6 separate regions of the Homo sapiens genome follow, and all the other regions are linked to region 6. The links are contacts of gene promoters, found by promoter capture Hi-C in blood cells and fetal thymus (Javierre and others, 2016). All regions are on one chromosome and are shown on one strand. The core of a region is centred on a gene start or on the middle of the fragment in contact, and the rest is flanking DNA. Distances in the headings are between cores, read along the strand shown.

Region 1 (2,700 bases), core at 43-2,542, 600 kb after region 6:
GGCAGATAAAGTGACTTGTCCCAAGTCACACAGCCAGCTAAGGGCTGACCTGACCCTTCCCGTCTCCTCAGTCTGACATGAGGACCCCACAGTGTGCCTACCTTGCTCACCCTTCAGTATCCATTCCACTAACTAGAAAACTGATTTTGCAAATACTATTTTAACAGGGGGGCAGGAATTAACAAACTAAGTAGAATGACTAGTTTTTTTTAATGTAAACCTATTTTTTGCTTATTAATGCTGTACTAAAAACATCAAACAGAAGTGAACTTCTTTTGAGAGACAGAGTCTCTGTCGCCCAAGCTGGAGTACCGTGGCGTGAACACAGCTCATTGCAGCCTCAACCTCCCAGGTTCAAGTGACCCTCCCACCTTAACCTCCCAAGTAGCTGAAACTATAGGCATGCACCACCATACCCAGATAATTTTTAAATTTTTTGTAGAGATGGGGTCTCACTATATTGCCCAGGCTGGTCTCGAACTCCGGGGCTCCAGCAATCCTCCCACTTGAGCTTCCCAACGTGCTGGGTTTACAGACGTGAACGCTGCCTGGCCAGAAGTAAACTTATTACACATTCTGTTTACATTTTGATCAGTGAACTTTTAGTGACATGTGCAGTGAGCCAGCTGTCCCTCTGGTCATCCTAGGAGACTACTGTATCACTCACATCCCATCAGGCAGAGAAAGAAGGTAAGCACCAACGGCCTAAGAACACCAACATCACAGGGCCAAGAACAGAGCTGCCATCTGTAGGCACCAACTTCCTAATTTACATCCAAACGTTGAGGAGAGGGAAGTTGAGTGCCCCGGCCATCCTTGTGCCTCCAGGCCCTCGAGAGGCAAAGTGTTGGTGCAGTCTGCACAGAGCATCCTGGGTAGAGGCAGGAAGCAGCACAGGGCAGGCTCAGGCCAAGGGCTCGAGACTTAACACAAAAGGCAGATCCCCAAATAGCTACTCATGTTTCCTGCATTTTCACAAGTCAAAGACCCTCAAATTACTCCAATCTTGATTTATAAATAATCAGAATTATGATACAACAGCACTTCTCATTACAAAATCATCTCTGAATTTTGTAGAATTTATAGCCCTAAAAGAAATCAAAGTCACTCACTCCAGATACATCTCCTGAGTGCACGCTGGATATGAGGCCTGTACCAGGAACTGGGCGTTGCAGTGATGAGAAGCAGCAGGGGGTGGGTGGTGGAGGACAGACCCAAGCAGGATGAGATTCCCGGGTGGCCAGCACCAGCCAGGACAGAAGAGGCAGAGCTGGGGATCACCGGTGGGAAGGTCAATGCACAGAGACACTGCAAGAGGCAGCCGAGGGATATTTGCTGGGTGTGCAGGGTAAAGGTCTGGGCCAAGACCTACGGTGGTATCCACGCTATCCACAGCTGTGTGACTAGGTACGTCCTCAAGAAACTGAATTCAACGGACGAGACACTGCCCGGGGTCACTGTGCCTGCCAGAGCCCAGCAGCAGGCAGAAGGAACCAGAAAAAGAGAGCCCGGCCCCAGAAGGCAGCAGCTGGTGGAGGAGTGAGAGAGTGGGGGAGGAGGAGGGCATGGAACCAGGAGAAGGGAGTGGAGAAGAGGGGCAGCGGTGCTGCTTCCAGGGCCAGGGAGCAGCATGAAGACAGACAAGGGTCTGCCGCATCTGGAATGGCGAGGCCGTCTCCTTGGCAGGAGCAGTTTCAATAGAGTGGTGCAGATGAAGACAGCTTTTTTCAACCTTACCTAATCGGTATGGTTTTTGTTTTTCATTTAATAGATACCAAAGAATCCACACAATAGCTGAATGGATATAAGTCATATCGTATTACTCCTCTGCTTCAAACCCCCAAACGGCATCTCATCTCATCAGAAGAAAACCCACCAAACGCACCAAGACCTATCCGCCTTCTGCTGTGGCCTCCCCTCCTAGTCCTACCCCCTTCTGCAGTGGCCTCCCTTCCTAGTCCTGCCCTCTTCCACCGCGGCCTCCCCTCCTAGTCCTGCCCCATTCCGCCATGGCCTCCTCTCCTAGTCCTGCTCCATTCCGCTGTGGCCTCCCCTCCCCACACTTTTTCTGGCCACACTGGCTTGGCTGCTGGGCGCACCTTCCCACCACACTCCTGCCTGAAGAGCCTCTGCACCTGCCAAGCCCCTGCCCTCTGCTCACCCCACGGCCCACAGGACCCAATCCTGGCCTCACTTAGGCCTCATCCCGAGAGAGGCCCTTTGTCACCCCTAGCTACTCACCACCCTGTTACTCAGGGTTACTTCTCTCCCTGGCCTTTGTGACCTGACGCAGTTTTATCTATTTGTTTACTCTGTCTCACCTACTAAAACACATTTTCAAAGACATCAAGAATTTTATCTGACACTATATCTCTTAAATCTGGAACGGTGTTGCACATAGTGGAAGCAAAATGCCTGTTAAATTAATAATGGCACTCAATAAATTAAGTATCAGACCAGGGGATTCAGGAGCTGTTTGGAAGAAAAAATACCTCTAAGTATTGGGTTGGTGCTGCTAACACCTAACTTGAAACATAATTATTTCAAACTTCCCTAAGTTTCCCCATCATGCAAGTAGACCCCAGACATGCAGCAGCCCCCACACAGATGCACTTACAGTAATCGCAGGTGGTATAAAGTGCGATTGTCCTGCTTGAGCCACGGCCCTTTATCGAACTTCAGGTATTCAATGTCCTCTAC
Region 2 (2,700 bases), core at 122-2,621, 570 kb after region 6:
GCAGCCTCACTCCGGGAGCCGCAACGGGCCTCGTCAGACCTTCCTCCCGAGCCACGCTTTCCCGGATCTGCTCGTTCACGGTGCCCGGGTGCGTGACACCCATGTGTGTGGCTGTGCGTCCAAAGGTTGAGATGCAAAGGGCATGCGGTGAACTATCTCAGGTGAACTATCAAGGCCGTACACCCACTTTAAAATGAAAAGAAAATCATTTTCCTCCTGTCAGAAGTCAGGGCTTCTGCCGAGTATACACCGGGTGAGCAAACCAAGAATCCTTAAGGAGCAAAAGAAGAAAGAGCGCCTAACAGAAAAAGGAACAAACCCCTCCAATGCTCATCCTCTGCAATCCCCTCTACTGTACAATGCGAACGGAGTTTCCCTCGCTGGATCTCTAAATTCAAGGCATTTTGGACTCATTACATTCACAGGGCTCTGATAAGTTTAACACTTTCAGGAGGCTCTTTCCCTGTATTCCATTTTCCATTAGAAATCAAAAAGGAAGTTTACTGAAGGGAAAAAAAACCTCAATAAATTACAAAGCCAAACATTCCAAGTCCTCTTCCAGAGCCAAGCAGCTAAGCTGCCCTCCACCCATGACCCTGGCGTGTGTCAGTCCCTGGTGGCCCACCGGGAGTGTTCCAGGGCGAGGCCTGGAGCTGGGAAGGGATTTTAGACAGTGCACTGGGAGGCACCCTGCCCAGTCACCGACAACCTGGGCTGACTCAGTGTACAAACCAAGTTCCTTTCCCTAAGGGCTGCTGGTCACAGGGGGCTGGGCTGGAAATGACAACTCCCCCTGGCCCCCGATGGAGCCCAGACATGGAGGATGAGCAGGGTGGGCTTCCATTCCAGGCTGCAGAGGGTGTGCACATTTGTACTAGCAGATACAAAATGACACATGAGGGTGTGCACACTGCAGCCCAGCCTGCTTGGGGATGTGGCCCAGCCTGTTTGGGAATGTGGATCTGTACTTTCTTCTCCCGGAAAACCCCACAGGACCGGACTTGTTCCCACCCGTGCATCCTGATTCATATACAGGAAAGACTGGAGAAGAGACAGTATTGGACACGCTCATCAAACCCACTCGTGATTTCCCCCAAATATCTGTGTGCAAATCTGTGTGTCAGAAGTCCATGCTTAATGTAAACTAACATGATGATTTTCCTGACCCTCACAGTTAAGAGGGTGAATGGCACACACACACAGGTGCTACCCTCTCCCCCACCAACCGGAAGGCTACAAAGAAACCTGAACCAGGCTGCCTGAGGGAGGGGCCCTGGGCGGCTGGGGAACAAAGAAGGAACATCTCTCATCTTTTGAATTTTACAGCATGTGCAAGGATTTCTTTTTTTTTTTTTTTTTTTTTTCCCTAAGAGAGAGAGATTAAGTAACTTGCTGAGGGTGGCACACGGCCAGTGTGTTCACAGAGCTAGAATTGGAGCCGTGTCCCCTGGCTCCTGAGTCTGCTCCTAACCACTGGCCCATGCTGTACATCACTCTGTGCCTCTTCCAGCCTAGGGCTGTGTCTGTTCCCAGTTTTCCCGTCATAAATAACACCGATGTGCCCCCTCTAGATTTATGTGCTTGAGATAAATTTCTAGAAATGGAACTGCTTGCTTAAGGAAAAACAATAAACAGAGCAATAGATGCTGACGCAGCCATCGGAATGGGTTGAATTTAATAACGCCAAGATGCTGCTCCAGATCATTATGCTGCTGCTTACACTTCGGGGCTGATTCAGAGCCTTGGTTTCTCGTTATGAATTTATACCAGGCTCTTGGCCTTTTACTGCCTCATGCATGGGTCGGCAAACTGTAGCCCACAGATCAAATCTCGCCGCTGACTGCTTCTGTAAATGAGGCCTCACTGGCACAACCTGGCCCATGCATTTACACACTGGCTGGTGGTGCTTTCACACAGCACAGAGCTGAGCGGCTGTGAGAGGCTGTGTGGCCCGCAGAGCTGGGAACCTTTACTCTCTGGCTCTTTAAAGGAAACCTTTGCTGATCACTGGCCTAAGAAAGTACAGGAAGGTAACAACAAGACAGTAAAGCTGAGTCCACGACGTGGTTTAAGTTCACTTAGCCCACAATTACTTCCTAAGTGCCCACAGGTACGAGGTCCTGTGCCGGCTAAGTGCCTACAGGTGCCAGGTCCTGCGCCTGGCAACAGCGGGGAACAGGGTGATTCTCCAGCTCCAGGTGAGGTCGCAGAGGCAGCTGAAACGTGCTGTTCTTTGATCCAAAGTGACGCCACTGAGTTTGTGTGATTCAACGTAAGGACTGGATGAGTTCTGATGTTAGAAAAGTGTCCACTTCTAAATGCTACAGCCAACCTGGGATCTGTGCCATGAGGGCCAAGGCCGCACAATGAGGTTTCTCCCAGGCTCTTCTCTTGGGTGCACAATTTAGACATGCCCTATATAGTGCTTCAAATGCCAGCTGTTCGCACAGAAATCAGTCAAGGAAAAAAATATACACACACACACACACACACACACACACACAGTCACTCATTCTAATGGAGGAAACTCCTTCTACTGGTGAAACGCTGTGTCCTAACTACTTTGAGAGAGATGAACGAAGCCAGTCCTCTCTTCTCTGGCTAGAAAAACCTAGAAATGAGTTGGAATGTGGGAGAAGCCCAAAGTAGAAGATGGAAGGTGATGGAGGGCGAAAAGGGTGGAGAAATCCTACCTGACCA
Region 3 (2,700 bases), core at 146-2,645, 580 kb after region 6:
AAACCCAGAGGGGCTTTGTTCATTCACCTCCAGGTATCCCCACAATGCTGTTTCCAGAAGGAAATGCAATGAGAACTGCTGCTGATGTCTCTGATGGACAAAAGGAATTCTATGAATTTCCAGAAATGGTCATTATTATTTATTACTATTTAATTTCAACTGATCATTTTTTAATATCAAGCAACCGAATTTCCTTAAACAAAATCCTCTAAACAGTCAGACAATTCTTACTCAACAAAGGAACATAAAGGCTGTGGTGTGCATGGGGCTTTCTGGAAAGAGGAAGAGCAGCTTCCAGTGGAGACCCAGCAAGCACGACCTCAGCCAGGAGCCCACGGTCAGGGCCACGGTGCCAGGCTGCACTGACAGCAAGTGCCCCTGATGCTTCACCTCTGTGGATTCCTCCCCAAAACACACAGTCCAATCTAATCGCTAGAGAAACATCGGGCAACCCTCAACTGAGGGAGAGTCTACAAAATACCTCACCAGCACTCCTTATTAAAAACAAAGTCTGAGAAAATGTTACAACCAAGAGGTACCTAAGGAGACATGAGGACCCAATGTCATGTGATATTCTAGACGGGGTATTGGAACAGAAAAAGGACATTAGGGAAAAACTAAGGTAATCTGAATAATTCAAAGTGTGGGCTTTAGTTAACAATAAGGGCCGAATTTGGTGGCTCACACCTGTAATCCCAGCACTTTGGGAGGCTGAGGTGGCCAGATCACTTGAGGTCAGGAGTTTGAGACCAGCCTGGCCATGATGGTGCAACCCCATCTCTACTAAAAATACAAAAATTAGCTGGGCATGGTAGCAGGCACCTATAATACCAGCTACTTAGGAGGCTGAGGCACAAGAATCGCTTAAACCCGGGAGGTGGAGGTTACAGTGAGTCAAGATCATGCCATTGCACTCCAGCCTGGGCGATAGAGTGACAATCGGTTTCCAAAAAAAAAAAACAAAAAACAAAAACCCAGTAAGTATTATTAATTCATTAATTATAACAAGTGTACCATACTCACAGAAGAAGTTAATAAAATGGAAACTGGATGTGAGATATGAGAGCTCACTACTACCGTCACGGTTTTTCTGTAAATCTAAAACTGTTCTAAACATTCAAGTTTACTTTTTGAAATGCTTAGAAATTTAAAAATCGGATTTTCCCAGTCATTTAAATACGATTCAAAATTTTAACATTTCTAAACATTTAATTCAAACCACAAGCCCAATATCATATATTCTCTTAGATTCTCTTTAATGCTCACAAACTGAAAAGCAGACAAAACCACATAAAACACAGTGATTGAAAAACTGCTAGGTGAGCTCACCATGTAACTGTTAAAACGGCTAACACATCTGTCCCCTCCTGAACAACCAAACAGGGGACAATGTAGAAAAGAATTCTACAAAGGCAACATCAGGCTGTAAAGGCAACAGGGCAGGGAGGGCCCTGGATGCCAAGGTCCAGAGAAGAAGCAAACACAGCTGGGCTGCACGTTCCCGTCCCTGAGGCGCTCCCTGGTCCCACCAGCAGAGCCGGGGGGCTGAGAAGCCCGGCAGAGCTTTCAGCAGCAGGAGTGCACTGTGGGGCCAAACATGCAGTTCAGGACCCAACAAAAAGAAGGGACCCTGGCAAAAATGGCCTCTCAGTAAGCGCAAGCTAGAAACACTCCAGACCTCACAAAACGGAAGCCCAGCGTCACCAGCTTGCTTCCTGAGCGCTCTCAGGGGACCTGCCCTGACCTCCATGCCTGCCAGAAGACGGTAAAGCGCATCCTCTCCAGGGTGAGATGACTCCAGGCAAAGTCTCCACAAAAAATGACTGCCATTGGAAAACAACAAAACACCAATGATGAGGCCACCAAACGCCAAGATTAAACAACCCCAAACCAAACGTTAGGGACCAGACCACTCACACAGGCCTACAAAAGACACAGATACTGCAATTATCAGATAATTCTGTGTAACTTTGTGATGAATATGTTTAAGAAATTAGATGACAAAATAATATCAGCAGTAAACTTGAAATTATAACAATGAAAACTCTAGAATCAAAAACAAACCAGGATGAAAATTCAAAACTCAAATATAAGAAATACAGGTCTAACAACAGATTAGAACGAGCTGAAAGGATGATTAGTAACTTGAAAGGCAGTTTAGAAGAACACATCTAGGCTGATGCACACTCAAAAAAAAAAAAAAGACAAGATATACAGAAAGGAGCAGACACACGAAGAATATGGTGCATGGTGAAAAGGTCCAACATATGACCAACTGGAACCGAAAGAGAGCAGAGAGAAAATATGGCAAGAGTAATACAGACACACTGTGGGACGCCAAGGCAGACAGAAAATGTGGCAAGAGCGATACAGACACACTTTGGGAGGCCAAGGCAGGCAGATCACCTGAGATCAGGAGTTTGAGACTAGCCTGGCCAACATGGTGAAAACTTGTCTCTACTAAAAATACAAAAAATTAGCTGGGCATGGTGGCGCATGCCTGTAGTCCCAACTACTCGGGAGGCTGAGGCAGCAGAATCGCTTGAACCTGGGAGGCAGAGGTTGCAATGAGCTGAGATCACACCACTGCACTCCAGCCTGGGTGACAAGAGTGAGATTCTGTCTCAAAAAAAAAAAAAAAAAAAAAAGTGCTACAGACAATGAACACCAGCCAAAGGCTCAAAGAGTGTTATGAACCTC
Region 4 (2,700 bases), core at 194-2,693, 520 kb after region 6:
CTTCAAGAACAAAGCCACGGACCTTTGCCATGAGTGTTATAGCTCTTAAAGGTGGCACTGACCCAAAGAGTGGAGAAGGAAAGAACAAAGCTTCTACAGCGTGGAAAGGAACCCAAGCAGGTTGCAGCTACTGGTTTGGGTGGTCAGCTTTTATTCCCTTATTTGTCCCTGCCCATGTTCCATTTCTGTCCTATCAGAGTGCCCTTTTTTCAATCTTCCCCGTGATTGGTTACTTTTAGGATCCCTGCTGATTGGTCCATTTTACAGAGCAATGATTGGTCCATTTTACAGAGCGCTGATTGATCCATTTTACAAACCTCTTGCTAGCTACAGGGCACTGATTGGTGTGTTTTTACAGAGCACTGATTGGTGCATTTTACAAACCTCTTGCTACTACAGAGCACTGATTGGCGCATTTTACAATCCCCTTGTAAGGCCAGGCCGAGGAGACCCGGGATGAGGCCGGGTCAGACATTAGTGAGGTTCTATGGATGGAGCTCCAGTTCCCTCTGGGTGAGGCCTCACGGAACCAGGCTCAGCCAGATCTGGGGGCAGGGTGGGGACGGGACACTGCTGGCTCTTTGCTCAGGTCCATCCTCCTGACCCTCTTCCCTCCCTCCTTCCCTCTCTCCTTCCTTTTCTCCTTTCCTCCATTTTTCTGTCCTTCCTTCCTTCTTTCCTTTCCTCCTCCCCTCCCTCCCTCCTTTCCTCCTTCTTTCCTTCCCTCCCTCCTTCCTTCTTTCCTTCCTTCCCTTCTTCCTTCTTTCCTTCCTTCCCTTCTTCCCTCCCTCCCTTCCTTCTTTCCTTCCTTCCTTGCTTGTTTCCTTCCTTCCTCCCTTCCTCCCTTCCTTCCATTTTCCCCTCAATTATAAGCAGTTGCCCCTAAATGAGCTTTTCCTACCTTGCTGCTAAATGTCCTGAGTGTCCCTTTGTCTTTATACCCACTTCTGCTCTGGAGTGGCCAGTTATCTTTGGGTGACTTGGATTCTGTGCTGAAAGGCAGCTAGGCACCTCAGCTGGCCAACCCCACAGTCTGCCTTTCTGCTGACTATGGCTGGGCAGCCTGGGAGCCCTCAATGCCACCACCCAGTCTCAGAGGGGCTCAAGGCAGGCAGTGAGCTGCAGGCCAAGGCATCAGGGACCCCAGGACAGAGAGGAGCACTCACAGACCATGCCCTACCTCCACCTTCCATGACAGGTACACAGAGACAGGTCTTTCTCCCACACATGGATGTCTTTCTCGGATAGTGACCATGTGTTCCTCTAGACAGTACAATGACTTCTCAGGGGATAGAGGCGGTGTCACCTGGGAAAAATCAGAGGCTGGGCATTGCCATTACCACTGTCGTCCGTCAGGTTGACTTTTCTACGCCACAATGCCTTGGTCCTTGGGCTCATCCCAGCCCCTGTACCAACATGATATGACAGCTATGATTCCAGGGACACCTGGTTTAAAATTGATGAGGCAGACTGTGAGGGAGAGTGAAGTGGGTTTCCACCCCAGGTGTCATCCTGGAGCTGTAAGCACCCTAAGAATCCCCGGCCCCATCACAGGTGTGCAGTGTGCCAGCAGGTAAGATGGTAGGGTACGGATACCACACCTTTGCGAAGTAGAAAGGACAATGATTACCATGAGGCTGCAAACCAAGGAGCAACTGGCATTGCCAGGGCTCAAGAACATCAAAGTCTGGTAAATTAGAAGTAAAGGATGGAGGCAGATGTTGGCTTAAAAGAAGAGAAGTATGAGTAGCTATATATGTTATCAGATAAAGTAGGTGTCAGAGCAAAGAAAATTACCAGGGACAAAAGAGGCCATTACATACATCATGATGAAAGGGTCAATATGCAAGAAGACACAGCAATCCAAAATACATAGCCACTGAGCAACACAGCTTCATAATACATAACACAAAAACTGAAAGTAGAAATAGACAAATCCACAAATAAACTTGTAGACTTCAATACCCTTCTCTCAGCAATACAACTGCTAGACACAAAATCAGCAAAGATGCATAAAAACTGAGCACTATCAAACAAAAGTATCTAATATTCTAGACTGCTGCACTTCAAACTGCATAATATACATTCTATACCTATGAAAAATTCCCCAAATAGACCATATCCTGGTTCATAAAAAAAACTGAAACCATACAAAATATGTTCTCTGACCATAAGGAAACCAAAGAAGAAATCAATAACAAAAAGATAACAGGAGTATCTCAAAGCACTTGAAAATTAAACAACAGATTTATAAATAATACATGGGTTCAAGAAATATCCTAGAAGAAAAGTAAATAATACAGAAAAAATAGAAATAAAAACACACACATCAAAATTTGTGGGGTGCGTATTAAATGCTTACATTAGAAAAGAGGAAGAGTCCCAAATCAATAATTTAAGTGCCAAGATAATCTGAATTCCTACACAAATAAGCTAGGAAAAAGGGCACAATAAACACAGAGCAAGAAAAAAAAGAAAAAGAAAATTAAAAAGCAGAAATCAATGAAATTGAAAACAGAAAAATAAGGGAAATCAAGAAAATAAAAACTTGTTTCCATGAAAATATCAATAAAATTAATAAACCTCTAGCAAGACAGACAAAGGAAAAAGAGAGAAGACACAAATTACCAATGCTGGAAATGAAACAGGTGATATTACTACAGACCCTGCAGCCATTAAAAGGAGCAAATATTACAAACA
Region 5 (2,700 bases), core at 37-2,536, 550 kb after region 6:
ACCGTTCAGGTATCCAGGTCAACACTCACGGACGCTACACCTTCTCCAGCCCAGCTCCAGCTCATCTCGATGAATCCCTTTGTTGTCCACATTAAAGCTTTGAGTTCAACGGCTCCTGACGCTGGTGCAGGACCTCCCTGAAGGAGGCAGGACCGAGGTTTTGTCAGGCACGCCTGACATGGATGTGTGCCCAGGTGTGCTAAATGCACTCACTCCCTTTGGTCAGATTTTGGGGAAAGTCAGAGTGAGGCTCCTGCAGGCAGAGAGAAGGCTACAAGCACAAGCTCTGGGGCCAGAGGGCCCCATGCTGGAAATGCCTGCTGTGTGTCTTTGATGTCCTGCCTAACTTCTCTGAACCTCAGGCCGCCTTTGGTGAAATGAGGATAAGGCCACGGCCTCACAGGGTTGGCGGAAGGAGGGAACCCTGCGTGAAGTGCCAGGGCAGTGTCCAGGAGACGGATGCCCAGCCCATGGTGGTGGGTGCTGTGCCTCCCATGGGACTCCTCAGTCCTGAAGCCCGGTGCTCAGCAGGTAGTGTGGGTGGGATCCTGGGTAAGGAGCTGGGATCCAGGCTGCAGTGCAGCCCCTTCCTCATGGGTACAGAATCCCTGGAGGCCTAGGCCAGGCCATCTGGGGCCGTCCCGCCTGCTCACACTGCTTAGACCAAGGCCCTGGACATTATCTGGCAGCAGGCATCCGAGCCTGGGAATACCAAGAAGTCATACCAGGACAGCCCTATACCAATGCAGGTGCCTAAGGCCTACATCCCACACCAACTCCCAGAGCCCCCAGGGACAGAGCTCCTGAGGCCCACAGAGGAAAATGGCTCAGTGACTGTCCTGTGTGCCTGCCTTCTGCACGCCCCGCTGGGCTTCCTGCAGCCACAGCCAAATGCTCGGCCTAAGGAAGAAGCTGGACAAAGACCGGGAGGCAGCTGCTACCAGATACAGACAGGGACAGTCCCTGCCTCACCAGGGCCCAGTAAGCCCCGCCCTCTCTGCGCACCAGACACAGACAGGGACGGCTCCTGACTCTCTGAGGCCCAGAGCAAGCCCCGCCCTCCCCGCCGAGCCCCAGGCCTCCAGGCCCAGGGTCCTGTGAGGGTCCTCCCGGGGCTCCTCTCACACACCGGCCTTCCTGCTGCCGTGAGCTCCTCCATCCACTGAAGGCCTCAAAGACTATGCAACAGGCCAGCCCAGCTCTTGTTGCCAGATGGCAAGAGGGATGAGGGCTCCAGGAAGCACGGGGTGGTGCCTCAACACGCCCACGGCAGCGACATAACCTGTGGCCCCCAGTGCAAGATGAAAACGGGAGGCTCTGGTCCAAAACTTGTTCAGACTTTCAGGACGGCCACAGCTGAACATTAAATCAAGTGTGGGCCCTTCTTGAGCGTGGGCACTGGGTGAACATGGAGGTCACATGTGCATAGGTGGCCCTGCCCTTCAAGCTGGTCTTCCGAGGCCAAGTTAGCCAATTTACATCCTCTGGTGGTGAGGTGGAGGAGGTGAGGTCGGGGGACAAGCTCTGTCGTCACTACAGCTGTTTGAGCAAAAGTCCAGAGGTTCAGTTAACGGCAGCAAGGTTCAGGATTGTGTACAATTCTTAGGGAAATAGCAGCTCATTTCCACCAACACTTAAGAGCTAGAACCTCCTGGGCCCTGCCCACACGTCCGTCCCTCTTCCCAGCCTCAGCCACGCATTCCAGAGACGAAGCCAGGCTGTGCTCCGGACAATGGCCTCCAGGCTGCTCTTCTCCCTTTGGCCCCTCAAGGCCCTGTTCAGAGGCTCCCTGTGGTCTCATTCAAGGCTGCTCTGCAGCTGGGTCCTGAGCCCCCAGGGGACAGAAAGTAACCGACATCTCCACAGCCTCCGCTCCATGAGTGGCGACGGAAAAGTAACAGGCGTTCAAAACATGCACTCACTTGACGTTGTTCAGGGTCTACAGCCCACTGTCCATTTTGCAGCTGTAAGTGGAGTCGCTGGAAAACCCAATGTAAAAAGCAGCAGGCCTGCCCGAGCAAAGCTGCCAAGGCTAAAAGCCCCAGCCATCTTGAAAGCACAAATACACGTCGGTGGGACCCGGATCCTGACTCGAGCCTCCAGCGTTCCAAATACAAGGACAAACTAGGGATTGCAAAGGTGGCTCAGATGCCAGCCTGACGACGCAACTCAGTATGTCCCTTCATCTTCCACAAATCCAGGCCTCCAGTGTCTGGGACAGAAAAAACTAGAGCCAGCCGAGGTGGCCCTCCCTCCTTGGGGACTTCACCAAGCCTCGAGCCATCCTGGCCTAGGCAGGAGCCAGCAGAGGCCTGTGTATTTATTTTGCAGGGAACAGTTCACACAAAGATAAAGCGTGCAGGAGTCCAGAAGAGAAGGCTCTCTACTTCAAATGCAGTGTCTCAGAAGTCACAGGGCACCCCCTTCTGCCCCTGGAGCCCCCAACCCTTCCTTGCTCCCCTGGAGCCCCCAACCCCAAGCTTCCTGCCTTGCAGGCTTTCTCATTGCTTTAACCCCACGAATGCAATGGACACATGTCCCTCTTTGGGACGGACGTATGAGAGCTCATTATGACCAGGATAGTGTCGGGATTTTAAGGTAAAATCAAAGCAAACCAACTGCTGATTGAGCGACTTCTTCCAACACTGATACGGATAGGAGCTTGGGGCAGGAATGAGCACCAGCATTTGTGTCTGAGGA
Region 6 (2,700 bases), core at 65-2,564:
GGGGCGGCAAAGTGACTGCACAGGCCCTTTCCTCCCTCACGGAGAGCAAGCAGAACTGCTCTCAGCAAGCAATTAGGTAGGTCTCTACAGTCATGCAATTAGGATTTAGTGAAGAAAGTCATTAGTTTTAAAATAACTTAAGTTTAATTTCTGCAACGCTTTATTTGAAAACTGTGTCACAGCAGGTCAATTTACAACATGCAATAAAGAAAACACTCATATCAGCTGCCTCAAGTTATTACAAATTTTTGATGTGCATTAAATGAGTACACTGGGTTCCACCCCCGGCCTTTCCAACTGATACGCACGGTCTCCTCCTATAACAGTGTCAAATAATTCAACGCTCAATGTAAATACGAGATAATTTGCTTATGATTCCGTGGTGTGTTTTCGCAACGCCGGCAAACGCGGATCCCACCCCCGAGCGGGACCGGGCCCCGTCTCGGCCTGCTGGCGCCCTGCGGGCTGAGCCGAGCGGGTCCCGGGCAGCCCCCCGCCCTCCCGCGACCCCCCGGGCGCTCGCAGCGGCGACGACAAGCGCGGGGCCGCGGACCCCCGGCAGGGACGTTTTTCTGCAAACTCACAGCATTTGACAAAGTTACATAAACGGCGCCCGGCCGGCCCCGGCGCCCGCCCGCCCCCGCCCTCACTCCCGGCGGCCCGGAGCCCACCTGCTCGGGGGGCGCGGGCCCCGCACCGGGAGACGGCGCCGCTGCCTGCCGTGCCCACCCCCGCGCCCCCGCCCCGGCGGGCGAAGCCGCCTCGCGGCGCGGGTGGAAAGGTCCAGAAGGGGCCGGGCGGCCCTGGGGACCGGCGGGTCCCACGGCGCGCGGCCAGCGCTGGCCCCCGCCTCCCACGGCCGCGCGCGGGGCGGGTGTGGACCGGCGGCGTCCACCTGCCGCGGGCTCCAAGGCCTGCAGGCTGCGCGGGGCGCGGGGCGGGCGGCGGACAATGGCCCGCGGGCGCCGGGCCGGGGCTGCGCTTACCGCGGCGGGCGGCGGCGGCCGGCTCTAGCCCTGCTCCGGCGCTCCGCGCCGCATCTCCTCAGCCTGCGCCGCCACCCGCCGGCGCGCGGGCTCGGGCTCGGGCGGCGACAGCCGGGACGCGGCCACGGCGCCGCCGGGGGCCCAGGCTGGGAGGCTGTTCGGGCGGCGGCGGCGGCGGCGCGGGCGGGTGCGCGGGCTCGGGCTCGGGCTCGGGCGGCGGCGGGGACGGTGCTCCGCGGCGGCGGCCCCACAACCTCCCCTCCTCATTCACAAAAAATTGACCCACGTTGAACCATGATGCTTCTCCCCACTCCAGCGTCGAGCCAGGCGGCGATAGGCCACCCCGCACGCCCGTCAGCCGGCCCGGCCCCGCCCAGCCAGCCGGCGGCTCGCCAACCATTGGCTGCGGCAGCCTTGCGTCACCTCCCCTTGCGGGCCCCGCCCTCCCGCCTGGTTTCTAATGAAGAGCTCGTCAATTACGGCTCGGCCCCGCCTCCCGCCCGCCCGCCCCGGGCGCCTGGCCGGCCTTCCATTGGCCCGCTGAAACCTGCGCACAGCCCGTCTGCTCCCACCCCTCGCCCAGCGGCTGCTCAACCGCGGGGCCGGATGCCCTATGAGCGGCAGAGAGGCTCCACCCCTGCCCGCCTCCCCGCACGCGTCCTGGACCTCATTGGCTGCTGGAGCTGCCAATTCTAGAGGGTGGGGCGTACCAAAAGACGCTCCAGGCGCCAGCCGCTGGGTGCTTCGCGGTTGAGGAGGCGCAGGGACCGGGGGCCAGTAGTGGCCGTAAACACGGGCCCCGGCCGTGTCCGGTCGCACTCGGTAGCCCGCATGGCTGCCTAGCGGTCAGCACCGCATGTCTGCGAGCCTAATTCGCGCTTAGAGGGCACACAATGGGGTGCAGGCTAACGCGGGGAGCCGGCCAGGCCTCGCCGCGGCGTCCATCTTGGATACTGGCAGTGGGTCACGTGGTGCTGCGTGCGCACGGAGGCGCAGGGCGGCCCGGTCACTGAGTGCGCAGGCGCCGTGGGCCTCGCCCTGCCCCGCGGCGGGAACGCGGCCGTGAGGGTGTGGGGTGTAGGTCCGCCAGGCCTGCAACGGCTGCCGAGGGTCGTGGGATGCGCTCGCCGCGTCCCTGCTCAGGCGGAGGGAGCCCGGCCCGCCGCCAGGGTCTCGAGTCCGGGTCCAGGCAGGCGTGGAGGTGGCGGGAACGGCGCACCGCCCGGGTGGGCGTTGTTTTAAGGCCGCAGGGCTTGGGAGGCTTGTGTTGAGTTACAGGTCGGCCCGTAGATCCCCGGAAGCGCCTTTGGTTGCCAGCAGGTGTCGGCGAGGGTCTTCAGTGGCCACCCTCCTGGTGGTGATGTTTCCGTTTCTTTCCAACAGGAGTATGACAACTTTTCAACTTGAGTGCACACACTGTCCCCGGAATCCCGCGTTCCAGGGAGGAAGCGCCTTTGACAGCGCGCGCCGGTTCGTGGGGCCCGACGGCGTGGGCCTGTGGTTGCGGACCTGGCGGAGATGCGCGTTCGCTTCGATTGTAGGCCATTCCTTTTAGGAGCTGAGAAAGGATCCGTTTTTACAGCATTCTCGACCTGTGATTCTTGGTGGGGGAAACTAGTTATGTGGATAAAAATACAGTTAGCAAAATAAAAATGCCAATTTTACATTTCCTTAAATATCTCATTAATAATTAGAAAACTTTGGTCATTGCAAG

The links. The method cuts DNA at HindIII sites, captures the fragments that hold promoters and counts their contacts. A CHiCAGO score of 5 or more calls a contact.
Region 1: a fragment that was not itself captured here is called in contact with the fragment with the promoter of HDAC4 in region 6 in 6 of 17 cell types (M1 macrophages, M0 macrophages, neutrophils and 3 more); the score reaches 9.6 in M1 macrophages.
Region 2: a contact is called between a fragment that was not itself captured here and the fragment with the promoter of HDAC4 in region 6, in 4 of 17 cell types (M0 macrophages, fetal thymus, M1 macrophages and 1 more). The highest score is 8.9, in M0 macrophages.
Region 3: a contact is called between a fragment that was not itself captured here and the fragment with the promoter of HDAC4 in region 6, in 9 of 17 cell types (M1 macrophages, M0 macrophages, M2 macrophages and 6 more). The highest score is 13.6, in M1 macrophages.
Region 4: a fragment that was not itself captured here is called in contact with the fragment with the promoter of HDAC4 in region 6 in 3 of 17 cell types (neutrophils, M0 macrophages and M1 macrophages); the score reaches 6.6 in neutrophils.
Region 5: a fragment that was not itself captured here is called in contact with the fragment with the promoter of HDAC4 in region 6 in 3 of 17 cell types (neutrophils, M1 macrophages and M0 macrophages); the score reaches 6.8 in neutrophils.

What each region holds. Positions count from the first base shown.
Region 1 is chr2:240,002,593-240,005,292 of GRCh38, forward strand. It overlaps NDUFA10 (NADH:ubiquinone oxidoreductase subunit A10), which reads right to left. Exons shown (of 10, transcript NM_004544.4): 8 at 2,618-2,700. Among named protein-coding and RNA genes, the nearest start is that of NDUFA10, 21 kb to the right of the region's middle. The HindIII fragment of the contact is 5,215 bases long and covers 1-2,700 here.
Region 2 is chr2:239,965,507-239,968,206 of GRCh38, forward strand. All of the region lies in intron 9 of NDUFA10 (NADH:ubiquinone oxidoreductase subunit A10), which reads right to left. Among named protein-coding and RNA genes, the nearest start is that of MIR4786, 24 kb to the left of the region's middle. The HindIII fragment of the contact is 8,260 bases long and covers 1-2,700 here.
Region 3 is chr2:239,983,286-239,985,985 of GRCh38, forward strand. All of the region lies in intron 9 of NDUFA10 (NADH:ubiquinone oxidoreductase subunit A10), which reads right to left. Among named protein-coding and RNA genes, the nearest start is that of NDUFA10, 41 kb to the right of the region's middle. The HindIII fragment of the contact is 6,987 bases long and covers 1-2,700 here.
Region 4 is chr2:239,921,266-239,923,965 of GRCh38, forward strand. It overlaps a transcript of NDUFA10 not described here. Among named protein-coding and RNA genes, the nearest start is that of MIR4786, 20 kb to the right of the region's middle. The HindIII fragment of the contact is 2,710 bases long and covers 89-2,700 here.
Region 5 is chr2:239,946,543-239,949,242 of GRCh38, forward strand. It overlaps a transcript of NDUFA10 not described here. Among named protein-coding and RNA genes, the nearest start is that of MIR4786, 4.8 kb to the left of the region's middle. RefSeq lists an enhancer at 1-115. The HindIII fragment of the contact is 2,383 bases long and covers 96-2,478 here.
Region 6 is chr2:239,399,706-239,402,405 of GRCh38, forward strand. It overlaps HDAC4 (histone deacetylase 4), which reads right to left and starts at 1,315. Exons shown (of 27, transcript NM_001378414.1): 1 at 1,273-1,315. It overlaps HDAC4-AS1 (HDAC4 antisense RNA 1), which reads left to right and starts at 1,731. Exons shown (of 2, transcript NR_135575.1): 1 at 1,731-1,831; 2 at 2,370-2,652. RefSeq lists silencers at 964-1,133, 1,144-1,583, 1,604-1,723, 1,994-2,263 and an enhancer at 2,394-2,523. The HindIII fragment of the contact is 12,493 bases long and covers 1-2,700 here.